Linked DNA regions of Homo sapiens: region 1 is linked to region 2. The links are contacts of gene promoters, found by promoter capture Hi-C in human tissues and cell types (Jung and others, 2019). All regions are on one chromosome and are shown on one strand. Each heading gives the region's core, a stretch centred on a gene start or on the middle of the fragment in contact. The rest is flanking DNA. Distances are from core to core; before and after follow the strand shown.

Region 1 (3,831 bases), core at 22-2,521, 220 kb before region 2:
TAGCCGTTGACGGGGACGTAGAGCTGCGGCGGGGGCACCATGGGTCTGATCTGGCCCTTCATGGGGATGAACTGGGGCTGTGGGAAGGGCGGGGCCTTCTGCTTGGGCCCCACGTAGCGGGCGTTGCTCACATTGCTCACTGGGCTGGTGCTCAGGGAGCTGGTCTGCGTGGTGTTGCTGGCCCCCGAGGTCTGCGCCGAGCTGTTGTAGTTGGAAAGGTTGCCCCAGGCTCGGAGCCGGCTGTGGATGTCCTTGAAGCGGGGCCGCCGGCTGGGGAACTCGTTCCAGCACTCGATCATGAGGGCATACACCCAGGCGGGACAGTCATCGGGGCAAGGCAGCACCTGCCGGTTCCGGATCATCTCCACCACATCCTGGTTGGAGTACCCGCAGTAGGGCTGCAGGCCGTAGCTGAAGACCTCCCACAGGACCACACCGTAGGACCAGATGTCTGAGTCGATGGAGAACTTGCCGTACATGATGGCCTCTGGGGCCATCCAGCGGATAGGCAGCAGCGAGTTCCCCAGCAGCTTGTAGTAATCGGCGGCATACACCTCTCGGAAGAGGCCCAAGTCTGAGATCTTCACGTTCAGCTTGTCGTACACTAGCACATTGCGGGTGGCCAGGTCCTTGTGAACCACGTGGTGGCTGGATAGGTACTCCATCCCCGCCGCGATCTGTGCCACAAGGTGCACGAAGTCGGGGGGCTCCAGGGCGGACTTCACCGTGCGGTCATCATCGGTGCTGCCCACGTCCGAGTGCGGCGAGCGCATGACCAGGAATTCGTGGAGGTCGCCGTGCGAACAGTAGCTGAAGATCATGCTCAGGGGCTGGTCCTTGGTCACCACGCCCAGCAGGCAGACGACGTTGGGGTGTTGCAGCCGTGCTCGCAGCATAGCCTCATGCCGGAACTCCTCCCGCAGGGGCCCCTCCGCTTTGTCCTTCAGCGTTTTGATGGCCACAGCCTGGGTCTGCTCCCCCGGGGCAGGGCCGAACAGGTGACCTTTGTAGACTTTCCCAAACCGGTCCTCTCCCAGCTCCTCCATGAACCTCACCGCAGACAGGCTGATCTCTTTGAGTTTGGCCTGTCAAGAAGAAAAGCCCCACGTGAAACATCACTGTCACCGCAGCCCTGGAGGAAGCTGCAGAGCAGCCGGGAGGAGTGGAGTCCCTGTGCGGCCACGACTAGGGGGGCCTTGCAGAAGACCCGCTGGTTTTGCCCACCCAGCCTTGGCCTGCCCACCCACAGCTCTCTAGTTAACCTTAAATACGGCTCTGATGCCAAGGTTGCTTCCCATCTGCAATCTTCCACAGATCCCAACCAGGCTACAAATAAGGTCCCTCCAAAATCCAGCTGGGACACACTGACTTCCTTCCCACTTGTGCATGTGTGGACACACACACACACCCTACAGCCAGGCCCAGGCACCAGCTGCCCTGGGGCTGCCCCGGACATACCCTGCCAGGTTCCCTCCAACCCCCATGTGTGCCGACACATCACGTGAGATGTGATGTCTTTTTCTCATGGACCCCACAGAGGCTTTCCCACGACATTTTTGTCTTGGCAATTTTGTCACTTATAAGAGTCCAAGCCAGTTGTTCTACAGAGGTTCCCTCAATGGGCCTGTCCATGGGCCTCTTGACTAGGGTCTCTGTTAAACATGTTCCTGGAAAGAGTACCCCACAGGTGATAGGAGCCCTGAGAACCCTGCATCTCTCTCGGCCTCTATGACACCAGCTCCTCCCGTGTGGCCAGCCCTCATCCTCCCCAGAGGTTCCTGGGCCTCCGTGCAAGCCCCGGGGCTCTGTGCCCTCCTCGCTGGCCAGCCCCTGCCCATAGCAAACTCTCACCGACTCTGGGACTGAAGAGCCAAGTGCATCAGCTCCCTCCTGGCCACCTTGAAGAGCCCCTGCAAAGCTGGCTGAGAATGATGTTACCTACGGCTTGCAATGAGTGTAAATGCCCTTTTACAACACAACCTGGAGAGGCTGCAGCACATGTTCTCATCTGTTGTATTTCAGTGCCCCACCCCCATCTAAGGCTGCTCTGGGATGAGGGGTGGCCTTTTAGTGGTAGCCTGTCCACCTACTCCCATTTAAGAGCTATTCTCCTATCCTTCCCTGTAAACAAAACAAAGCAAAACCAACCCAACCCAAAAGTGTCAAGAAAAATTATGGGGAGCATTGGAGCCCTGTTGTTCTTGTGTGTCTTCTGGGCAGAGCTGAGGCACCTGGACAGTGAGGACACTCGCTGGGGCCCACAGGGGCAGCATGGTCCAGGCAGAAGGAGGCCCATGGACTCTGGGGCAGTGAATTCCCAACACGCCTGCCATTTATTTTCTAAAGCACACATGTCCTGATCTAGTTTACAGAAAAAAAAAATGGCAAAATGAAGCGGAGTTTAAAATAATTATGTGCTATGTATCAAGTAAATTAAGACATTTAATGTTGGGGGAAACAACCCCTGAGGATTAAACCTGGAAGAGCCACCCGGGTAGAAAATGTAAGGCATGGAGACCTGTTTGTGCTGGTTAATGAGGGGCATTTCCATGTCTTGGCTGGGCGAGGCCATCAGCTGTCGCCGCTGCGGTGTGGACGCAGATGCCTTCTGCTTATTCCGGCACATGCAAACCAAGAAGAAAAGGCAAGCGATGACCAGTGGAATTGCGATGCTGGGGACCAAGATGTACAGAATCCCCATCTTGCTGCTGTCTCGGGGACCTGTGAACAATAAGGCTTTCGTGATTTTTCAGAAAACATCCCTTTTCTACTCTAAGTTCTCTACCAACCCACTCTCCACCTCCAGCCAAAATCTTCACGTGCACGTGTGTCATCACCTAAGTTACACAATGGGGTAAAAGGGCACACCACACCTTAAAAAACATGATGCACCAAAAAATGCACACCCGGCTGCATCCTGGGGAAACAAAACCCAAAACTGCCCAACCTGGAAACAAGCGGGAATATGCAGTATAAAAAGTAAATGAATTCTAATGATCTTAATAACGACCACATCCGCTTTCTGTTCCTGATGTTTGAATACCATCGGAGATAGGTGCTCTGCCCAATTTCACTTTTATCAAGGTCTCCCCAGCTACTGACAAGTTCATGAAATTCACTGGAGACCCTTGTCCAAGGTGAGTGAAACTTGGTACTGGGATTAGACACGATCCTTTTCCTCATTCAACATTTTAATGTTTTCTTCACATTTTTATCTAATGATGACAGATTCTTTTAGGGTAATAATTAAACATGCACTAGATTTAAAAGAGCACCAGTAGTCCATGCTCTTGACCCAATACAATATGCAACAGGGGCACAAGAATTCTTGGAAAGCACTGGGTACCAAGATTCAAGGCCACCAGCTACCTTCCCTGCATTTTTTTTTTTTTTAAATCACAGGGAAAAGTAACTCTTTGTCTCCCTCTACAGGATTTACAGAAAGGTACAGGGGGCACACCAGGCAGGCTGAGGTGACCTCAGATTCTGAGCAGGACTCCAGGCAGGGCTGGCTCCTCCCAGGCTGCGTGGCCCCAAGCACCCCACACGTCAAAGCAATTGAATGTAAGACAAAGTGGTGCCGTTTCAGGACGCTGACCCTAAGCCTGGTGGAAGGTGAGTTCTCTAGAGAGCCACTTTCCCACATCCCCAGAAAACCACGGTGTTCTGTTTTCTCCTTAACCTTGCAAATAACTATATCAGACTTAGAGGGCCCCATGGCCAGGGGGCAAAGCGCTTCTCATCTGGAAGCAAACAAGTGATTTCTGGTCAGTGTGAGGCCTAAAAGAGCTAACTCGGTTCTAAAAGTGAACATGCTACTGCCACCTTAGG
Region 2 (3,863 bases), core at 656-3,155:
GCCGCCTCCCCGCCACCCCTCTCCCCCAGCAAAGGGATCTCCTGGGAGATTCTTGGGGGAGGGGTTGCAGAAATCGACAGAGGTCTTGAGTGATGGATACCAACTTAGAATGTGGTCTACTTATTTTATTGTGCACTCTGAGCGGTTTATGCTTTAATGCACAGTGAGATAAACGCAAGCTCCCTTCCCAAATCAAGTAATTAGGAATGTCTGACGTAATCAACATCTGCTTAAACTAAAACCCCCCCCCAGGAAAGACTGTGCAGCCTTTCTGACTCGCGTACCTTGGGCCGGCTAGGGCGGCAGGCCAGGATACCTGGAGCGCGCAGCTCCCAGCAGGACGCAGGAAAAGCAGAGCGTCTCCCAGCCTGCGACTGTCCCGATTCTCACCTTCCTGCAGGAGTGCAGGGATGGGGGATACTGAAGCCCATTTACTAGTAAGAAGTGTCTCACACATTCCGGGGGCTTCAGGCGAACCCCATAGGTCTCTGGCGCTCCTGGGCCTGAAGGCCCCGCCCGCCCTCCTCCACCCCCGCAGGGTGCCGAGAATCCGGCCCGAGGCGCGCGGGCGGGAGGTGCTCCCGGAGTCTGCACCGCCAGAGCTAACGCCGCCTCCTCCAGGCAACCTAGGCAGGTCCCAAGCTGCACTTCCGAACCTCCCCGCCGTTCCTCTGCGCCCCGGATCCAAGCAGCCGAAACCGCGCAGGGACTCGGGGGAAGTGGGGCCCCGGGAGGAAACCCACCTAGGAGCCGGGCCCCGCCCCTCCCGCCGCCAGCCTCCTACAGGTCCCGGGGGTCCCCCCGGCGCGGCCAGAAGGCGGCCGCGCCCCAGCCGCTCAGGGACCCGCGATCCCAGTCACAAACCATTTCAATCCAGATCACACACCACTTCGGCCACCCCAGAGCGGTGGGGGAGAGGAGGTTTCAGGGACCAACAAAAGGGATGCCAAAGAGCCCGTTTCCATCAAGCGGCCCGCGGGCTGGGAAAGTCAGGACCCGGGAGCCGCCGGCGCCCCCACCCCCGCCGCAAGAGCCGCTTCTCCGGGGCCACGTCCACCCCAGGATTCTGCCAGGCATCAGGCCGCCCTGGGGGTGGGGGGACGCTCCGAGACAGACGGGGGACACTCGGGGCCGTGTGCCCTTGAAGGAGGAAGACCTCGGGGAGGAAGCCCGGGTCCTGGGACCCTCGGGGCACATCTGCGGACTCGGGTCCCGGGCCCAGGGCGGGTACTCACATTCACACTCGCACTCCCACTCGCGACCCTCGGGAAGCGCCACCGAGAGGCTCCCAGCCGCCGCCGCCCGCCCCCAGACTCTGGAAACACTTAGGCGTCCCCAGAGCGCGGCTTATTGTAACCAGCCCGAGGGGGTCCGGGGTGCGGGCCGGGAGCGGCGTCGGGCGAGATGCGAATGGCCCTGCCTGGCGCCCCTCGTTCAGGAGCATGGGCGCCGGCGCAGCGGCCGGGAGCATAGTGGCGGCGGAAGGGCTGGCCAAGCGAGCCGTGAGCTACCGTCTGCGCACAAGCCGGAACGCCAGATCCTACCTGAAGTCCGGGACACTGAGAGCAGAAGCGCGGCGGCCGCCCAGACGGCCGGGATGCACAGCAGCGGCCGCCGCGGGAGCGCCGAGCCCCGGGCCATGCCGCAGGCAGTGGGGGCCGGGAAGCCCTCAGAGCTTCGGGCCGGGGCGCGGGGTCGGGCGCCACCACCCCTTTCTACGATGCGTCCGCTCCTCCTTCTCCCTGGCGCTTCGCAAACGGGTCCACTTCGAGGACCTCGTCGTCGTCCTCTTCTCCGGCCCGGATGCGCCGCTCGGCTCCGGCCACGGCAAGGGCTGGCTGGGGAGGTTCCTTGGCGCGGGCTGGGGCGTCCCGCCGGCCGCCAGGACGAGCGCGGGGGGCGGACCGCGGGCGAGCGCGCAGGAGGCAGGGTCCCCGCTCGCCCGCCCCGATGGGCAGAGCGAGGCTTGCGCCGGCGCCCCCTGCCGGGGGAACGCGCGGGCGGCGGGCGGGACCCAAGGAGCTGGGGCTGCAGCTGGGGCCCCGGACCTGCCTCCTGCGCCCGCCCTCGGGCCTGCGCCTCGGAACGCTTGAACACAAAGGTGGCGCCTTGGGGGCGTCAGCCGGAGTTCGGCGGGTCTGCCCACGCAGGAGAGGCGCCCAGAGCGGGTGCCCCCGACTTTCGGGGGCGACACACCCGGGGATCTAGGTCACAAATCAGTAACTCCAGGCTGCACTGCGCACCGGGACAAATCTGAGAGCCACCCAGCCCCAGACACCAGCGGTGAGGCAGGAAGAGGAGAAGCGAAAGTTGCAAAAGGAAATGTTCAGGAAAACAAACAGGCCGCCTTGGCACCGGCGCCCTCCCAGGTCGGTGGGGACAAGCGCGTCCCCCGAAATGCTCAAAACTGCCAGGGGTCGAGCTGCGTGGAGGGAGCCCTCGGGAGCGCGATGCTATCCGAAGCCACCGCGGCTTTTGGTTTACTGTTAAAAGCAAATTGTATAATTTTACCCATTAAAGGCAGAACACTATTTGTTCTCTGCAGAGGCCCAGAATGTGCAGAATTTGCTTCACTTATTAGAGACATTTTGAACGGAATTCAAATAGCATGTTTTCTTGCTTATTCTTGGTTTTGCTCAGCACATGCAAATGTCTTTGTTTTTCCTCTTAGAGGAAGGAATTGGATTCTCCAGCATCTCAGTTGCTTGTTCCATGAGATTGATCTTTTAACTGATTATCCAGCAGTTTGTTTGGTGTTTTTGCTGGAGTACCAAGCTCTGTTAATTGGAGGGCATTAGGGAGAGCCCTGGCCTTGGGTGCCAGACGTGAGGCCTCAGACGTGGCCAGAAATAAAAACTCTCTTGCTATGGTCTGCGGACAAAATGACTAAGCCAGCTCTAGCTTGTTACCTCTGTTAAAAGTATTTAGGCGTCCGGCTATCTCTACCCAATTTGTGTAGGGAAATATCTCACGCAGTTCTCATTCCCAGGAGCTGCTGTAAATCCAGTAGGAGAATGGGAGAAGATCCTAGCCCCTCCTCAACTGGATGGCAAAATTATTACCAAACTTCTTAGACGGGCTCAGGCTGTTCCTCTGCCCAGGCTGGTGCGGGTCTGAACGGGGGGGCTGCTCTCCCCAGTGGTTAGAGGACTGCCAGGGGTTTATCTTTGGGGTTTTCCTCCCTTTAGCTTCCCTTAGAATCCTTAAGGATGCTTTTAGAGTAATGTTTTAAGAGTAGGTGCTGAAGCACTTAGTTCCACACCCCTCTCTTCTGGATCTAGGGAAAACCCAACAGGGGCTGCAGAGAAGGGTCTTGAACCTGCCCTGGAAAACCCCTCCCTCAGCAATGCTGTGTCCTTTCCGTGGTGCTGTGCAGCTCGGAGAAGGTGGTCCCAGCACCTTTGCTTTCCACTTCACACAGCGTGAGCATGTGGCTCCAGAACCATTTCATCAGCAGCCCTGCCATTTATTTTTGTGTGACCTTCAGGAAAATGACCTCATCATGCCCCCATCTGTGTGTTATTTTCACATGACTGAGGCCCCACAAACCCAACTCAAAGGTTTAAACAGCAACATATATTTTGCTGACAGTTTCTTGGGTGGAGTCAGAAATGTGGGTTATATTGCATATGATTTCTTAAAAGCCTTTTAAAGCTTTCTTTTTTGGCATTTCTCTCTCACTCTCTCCTTCCCTTTCTGTAGGTTCTGAACTGAAGGATAAACAAAAAAAGCAAAGTTGGAAGGATGAAAATACAAGCTTTCTCAGTGGTTAAGAGAATATGGCTTACGTCCAAGGCCAAATTGGAGCAACATATTCCTTTCCATCTGTATTAGTCATCAATTGCCACATAACAAATTGCCCC

What was found. The method cuts DNA at HindIII sites, captures the fragments that hold promoters and counts their contacts. A contact is called where the count stands out against the background at its distance.
Region 1: a fragment that was not itself captured here is called in contact with the fragment with the promoter of ROR2 in region 2 in 1 of the 25 tissues and cell types used here (spleen).

Annotation. Positions count from the first base shown.
Region 1 is chr9:91,724,023-91,727,853 of GRCh38, forward strand. ROR2 (receptor tyrosine kinase like orphan receptor 2) reads right to left here. Exons shown (of 9, transcript NM_004560.4): 8 at 2,519-2,721; 9 at 1-1,085. Among named protein-coding and RNA genes, the nearest start is that of MIR3910-2, 90 kb to the left of the region's middle. The HindIII fragment of the contact is 9,202 bases long and covers 1-3,831 here.
Region 2 is chr9:91,948,323-91,952,185 of GRCh38, forward strand. ROR2 (receptor tyrosine kinase like orphan receptor 2) reads right to left here and starts at 1,906. Exons shown (of 9, transcript NM_004560.4): 1 at 1,545-1,906. The coding sequence starts at 1,641. RefSeq lists enhancers at 697-1,198, 1,199-1,698 and silencers at 1,892-2,071, 2,185-2,479. The HindIII fragment of the contact is 10,523 bases long and covers 1-3,863 here.